Linked DNA regions of Homo sapiens: region 1 is linked to region 2. The links are contacts of gene promoters, found by promoter capture Hi-C in human tissues and cell types (Jung and others, 2019). All regions are on one chromosome and are shown on one strand. Each heading gives the region's core, a stretch centred on a gene start or on the middle of the fragment in contact. The rest is flanking DNA. Distances are from core to core; before and after follow the strand shown. Region 1 overlaps RRP1B (ribosomal RNA processing 1B). Region 2 holds the start of CSTB (cystatin B).

The links. The method cuts DNA at HindIII sites, captures the fragments that hold promoters and counts their contacts. A contact is called where the count stands out against the background at its distance.
Region 1: a fragment that was not itself captured here is called in contact with the fragment with the promoter of CSTB in region 2 in 2 of the 25 tissues and cell types used here (dorsolateral prefrontal cortex and mesendoderm cells).

The regions. Positions count from the first base shown.
Region 1 is chr21:43,673,367-43,676,325 of GRCh38, reverse strand. It overlaps RRP1B (ribosomal RNA processing 1B), which reads right to left. Exons shown (of 16, transcript NM_015056.3): 4 at 2,371-2,456; 5 at 1,629-1,690; 6 at 1,163-1,292; 7 at 1-54. Among named protein-coding and RNA genes, the nearest start is that of RRP1B, 15 kb to the right of the region's middle. RefSeq lists an enhancer at 1,587-2,086. The HindIII fragment of the contact is 5,299 bases long and covers 1-2,959 here.
Region 2 is chr21:43,774,858-43,777,557 of GRCh38, reverse strand. CSTB (cystatin B) reads left to right here and starts at 1,250. Exons shown (of 3, transcript NM_000100.4): 1 at 1,250-1,354. The coding sequence starts at 1,289. RefSeq lists a silencer at 672-1,671. The HindIII fragment of the contact is 5,981 bases long and covers 1-2,700 here.

The DNA of each region.
Region 1 (2,959 bases), core at 112-2,611, 100 kb after region 2:
CGCAGCAATTTTGCAGAATGGATCGATAAACTTGAGATTCTGATCTGCTAAAAGCTGTAATTTAGAAAAAGGGAAAAATTGAGAAAGAGCCTTTCCCTTCTTGACATGTCCTTGAAAAAGGGACCATTCCCATCTTTTACAAAGGTGGAGTTAGACCAAGCAATGCCTGTCTCACACAGCCCCAAAGCGCCCCTGTGGAATGCCACAGAAGCCTGGAGCCAGGCTGAAGACTGAGGCCGCCCTCCAGCTACTTGGTATCTTAGTGCAGTGGCTGGAGAAAGCCACCCAGCCTGACCTGCACTATCCTATATGCCCAACATATACAACACGGGTGTCCAATCTTGTGACTTCCCCAAGCCATAATGGAAGAATAACTGTCTTGGGGCACACCTAAAATACACAAACACTAACAACAGCTGATGAGCTAAAAATAAAATAAAATAAAATAAAATAAAATAAAATAAAATAAAATAAAATAAAATGCAAAATACCCCTCATATTTTAAGAAAGTTTATAAATTTGTGTTGGGCCACATTCAAAGCTGCCCTGGGCCCCATGCAGCTCTCAGGCTGCGGGCTGGACAAACCTGATACAGGACATACATATACTTCCTCTACAAGAGGGGTAACAGGGACAGTGCCTCCAAGTGTGAGACAAAAGAATTATTGTTTTGAATATAACATATTTTCTTTTAATCAAAAAAATACATGTTCCCTGCAAAACACCTGTGAAAGAAAAGTAAAATCTGTGCACATTCCCACATTCAGAGAATCATTTGCATACTAAAAAATGTATGTTTCCTTTCCAGCCTTTTGTCTATTTATGAGTATATACCTTAAAAATGTCTACCATTTGCATAGCTTTTCCTAGCGCTTTATAAAGCTCCCTAGATCCTGAGTACTCCCCCGTGTTAGTGAGTTCTTTAGTGGAGTCTGTAGGTTGCTTTCAATTCCGTTTTACAGGTAAGACTGTCATGTACATCCTCAGTGCACAAATCCCATCCCACCAGCTGCTTAGGACACATTCCCAGACAGGACTGAAGCAATTCACGCTGCTACAGTCGCTGGTCATGCGAAGGGCCACCCCACAGCACTTCACTGGCGACTACTGCGAACACTGGCGGCCCCCTCACCCCGTGGGCAGCCTGTCGGCAGCTGCTTACCTCCTTCCCCCCGACTTTGGAGAGTTCATCCAGGTAAATATCAATGAAGTGGAATCTCACTCCATTAGGAGACTGACTCTCAGGACACAGGACCTCCTTCATCAGGACATCCAAGAAAACCTTGATTCGGCTAAAGAACCAAACGCATGCTTCTGTGAATGACAGTATGCCAACACGTCCCACTTCCCAAAGAGAAACAAAAATACTCCGTCTAGAACCTACACAGCCTAACAATCAATGCAAGGCTGAAATCATTTTACAAGGAAAAAAGCAATCACTTAAATCAGGATAAAATGTTAACTGTCATATATACTTAACTGTTTTATGCCTTCTACTGGATTTCAATTCTCTATAGGTAACGATGTATCGAGCTTCTCATTGGTACTCTACAAGTTCAGAAAACTTGACACTCTACTACCTTTTAAGTTTTAAGGCTACCACATGCTAACTCAAATGGTTTACTGACCTTTCTTCCCAGCCATTTCGCTTCAAGACTTCAAAGGACTGCCTCAGGACCAGACGAATCAGCTAAAGAAAGGCAATTTTTGTTTAAAAAAAAAAAAAAAAAAAAAAAAAAGGAAAGGTAAGAAATATTAATCAGCTCAGCAGAATGAAGGGACCAATGAAATTGTTATGGCCTGGATCCCAAAAGTAAAAAAATATTCACAACAGTCATATTTACCTTCTAGATCAAAAAACATATTCATAGCCAAGAACAGTGGCTCATGCCTGTAACCCCAGCATTTTGGGAGGCTGAGGTGGGCAGATCATTTGAGGCCAGGAGTTCAAGACCACCCTGGCCAACATGGCAAACCCTTATCTCTACTAAAAATACAAAAATTAGCCAAGCATGGTGGTGCGCGTCTGTAATCCCAGCTACTCAGGAGGCCGAGGCATGAGAATCACTTGAACCCAGGAGGCGGAGGTCGCAGTGAGCTGAGATCGCACCACTGCACTCCAACCTGGGGAGCAGAGCAAGAGAGACTCTGTCTCAAAAAATACCCAACGTATTCACTAATGCTCCCCAAACTCATCCTTAAGAACTGCAAAAGCCAAAACAGAGAAGCTTTCCAGGACACATTCAAATTCTTCCTTCACACTAAGCCTGTGGCTTGTTTTGCTTCACAAATAAACCTTCCCATTGTTTTTAAGATAAAGGACATTCTTTTCTTCCCAGGAGTTTTTGAAGTAACTGCGGCAGATCTTACCATATAGTATTTGTCCAGGCGTAGCCTGTCTATTCCTTTCCATTCTCGATTCATGGTTTGCCAAAAGGTCTGAATGAACAGGTGTTCTGCAGTGAACAAAAGGCTCTAAATACTTGGCTTCCACATCAACATACTACCATATAGCAAGAAAATAATGAAGAGGAACAAACTAGCATTATTTATTATTCACTTTTCTCAGTAATTCTTGGGCAGCTAGAAAATCTGTTGATAATTAAATATACTCAATCATTTCTTTTACACTTATTTATTAAACATCACTTAGACTGTGCAGATCTTTTACTTTTTTTTTTTTTTTTTTTTGGAGACGGGGTCCCACTCTGTGGCCCAGGCTGGAGTGCAATGGCATGATCTCAGCTCATTGCAACCTCTGCCTCCTGGGTTCAAGTGATTCTCCTGCCTCAGCCTCCCGAGTAGCTGGGATTACAGGTGTGCACCACCACACCCGGCTAATATTTGTATTTTTAGTAAAGACGGGGTTTAACCATGTTGGCCAGGCTGGTCTCAAACTCCTGACCTCAGGTGTTCCACCCACCTCGGCCTCCCAAAGTGCTGGGATTACAGGCGTGAG
Region 2 (2,700 bases), core at 1-2,500:
TTCCAGCACTTTGGGAGCCCGAGGCAGGTGGATCACGAGGTCAGGAGTTCGAGACCAGCCTGGCCAATATGGTGAAACCCCGTCTCTACTAAAAACACAAAAATTAGCTGCGCATGAAGGCGCGCGCCTGTAGTCCCAGCTACTCGGGAGGCCGAGGCAGGAGAATGGTGTGAACCCCGGAGGCGGAGCTTGCAGTGAGCCGAGATTGCGCCACTGCACTCCAGCCTAGGCGACAGATCCAGACTCCGTCTCAAAAAAAAAAAAAAAAAGGCCGGGCGCAGTGGCTCACACCTGTAATCCCAGCACTTTGGGAGGCCAAGGCGGGTGGATCACAAGGTCAGGAGATCGAGACCATCCTGGCTAACACAGTGAAACCCCGTCTCTACTAAAAATACAAAAATTAGCCAGGTGTGGTGGCGGGCGCCTGTAGTCCCAGCTACTCGGGAGGCTGAGGCAGGAGAATGGCGTGAACCCGGGAGGCGGAGCCTGCAGTAAGCCGAGATCGCGCCACTGCACTCCAGCCTGGGAGACAGAGCGAGACTCCGTCTCAAAAAAAAAAAAAAAAAAAAAAAAAGAAAAGAAAAGGAAAGAAAGAAAAGAAATCCTAAAACGCAAATTCCACCAGAGAACCCTGCCTTCTTCTCATCCCTCTGATCTACCCCCTGCCCCCACCCAGCCTGGAGCGCGTGGGCGCCGTCTCCCCCTCCCTGGGCCCCTCTGTCCACCCCCTTCAGCCTTCAGTGTTCTCGGTCACAAGCGGTGATGTCCACTGCAGCCCGCACACCTGCTCCCGCGGGGCCGGGACCCCTGACCCCTGACCCCTGCAGCGCTGCGCCCCGCCCTCCCTCGTGCGCGGCCCGGACCCCGCCACCCTGCAGGATTGCGCCTACTCCGACTGCCCCTTCCCTATCGTCCCACCCTGCGCGCCCAACCCACCGGCGACACCCGGCCGCGCCCCCGCCCCGGTCCGTGTGACTCGGCGCCCGGAAAGACGATACCAGCCCCGGGAGGGGGGCGCTCCCTCCCGACACCAGCGCTGGGCGCGGAGACCCAGCCTGCGGCGAGTGGTGGCCAGGTTCCCCGCCCCGCGCCCCGCCCCGCGCCCCGCCCCGCGCGTCCCTTCTTGCGGGGCCACCGCGACCCCGCAGGGGACTCCGAAGCCAAAGTGCCTCCTCCCCGCCCCTTGGTTCCGCCCGCGCGTCACGTGACCCCAGCGCCTACTTGGGCTGAGGAGCCGCCGCGTCCCCTCGCCGAGTCCCCTCGCCAGATTCCCTCCGTCGCCGCCAAGATGATGTGCGGGGCGCCCTCCGCCACGCAGCCGGCCACCGCCGAGACCCAGCACATCGCCGACCAGGTGGGTGGGCCGCGGGGACGGGGCCGGCCCGGAGTCCTGCCTTAGCCTCAGGGCGCGGCCGCGGCTCCTGGAGCGAAAGAAGCCGCTTTGGCCCCGCTGCGCACCCCTGGGCTGGCCCGGGCTGTGGCCGTGAGAGGCCTCCCTCCGCTCGGGCGCTGCGCGCGAGTGAGCAGCGGGGGGCCGCGCCTGGGGCGCCGCTGGGGAGACATTGGGCTCCGCTGAATACAGCAAGGGCGAGTGGGAATTGATAGCCCGGAGCAGGGTGCGGTCCCTGCATGGACAGTCTCTGAGAGGAAACCCCAGGGATGAGGCGCTTCTGGTTTCAGGCAGGCAGGGTGATCGGGCGTCGCCGGCGATGGCGCAGGTGAGCAGCCGGCTCCGATCTCCACGGTGATCCGATAGCAAGCGGGTGGGAAGGGTCTGGCTAAACTGACTTAGCCAGGCTTCTTGCTAAAAGTGGATTTTACAAGGAAGTGCGCAGGTGGCCTAGGCGCTTCAGGAGCCCGACTACAGTTTGGCCAAGCAAGAATCTTTGTCAATATCCTCATCTAGTTCGGGAAAAAAATCATGAGAGAGAGTGCAAGAGGTCCCCAGTGATAAGGCACATGGGTTAAAAACTTAAGTGTATCTGCATAAAAGGTCCACAGGTTTCTTTACATGCTTCCGATTCTAGCACTGTTTCAAACTGTAAGTCTAAATAAAAAGTTAAAACACAGAAAAACAAGATAAAAACCGGGCTGGGTTGCAGATGGCAACCTTCCCTGTGTCTCGGTTTCCTCGTCTGTAAAATGGACGTCCTGTTGCTCTGCGCCTGCCAGAAGATTCTGGAGGGGCTGAAATGAGCAGGTCATCTGTGCAAGAAGCCCCCTCCGGTGGAGCACAGGCCAGGCCCGCCTCGCTGTCATGGTTGGTGACCGACGGGATGCCCCAAGCAAGAACAGGTCCAGGCGATGCTGAGGCCTGTGTTTTTTTTTTTTGTTTTTGAGACTCAGTCTCACTCTTGCCCAGGGTGGAGTGCAGTGGCACAATCTCGGCCCACTGCAACCTCCGCTTCCCAGGTTCAAGGGATTCTCCTGCCTTAGCCTCCCGAGTAGCTGGGATTGCAGGTGCTCGCCACCACGCCCAGCTAATTTTTGTATTTTTAGTAGAAACGGGGTTTTGCCATTTGGCTAGGCTGGTCTCAAACTCCTGACCTCAAGTGATCCGCCCACCTCAGCCTCCCAAAGTTCTGGGATTACATCCTTGAGCCACCGTACCCAGCTGGAACTGTTTTTTTCTACTTTATTATTAGGCTGACAGTTTAAATGTCCCTTCAGTTGTAAGAGACAATTGTGTGAAGAGCCAGT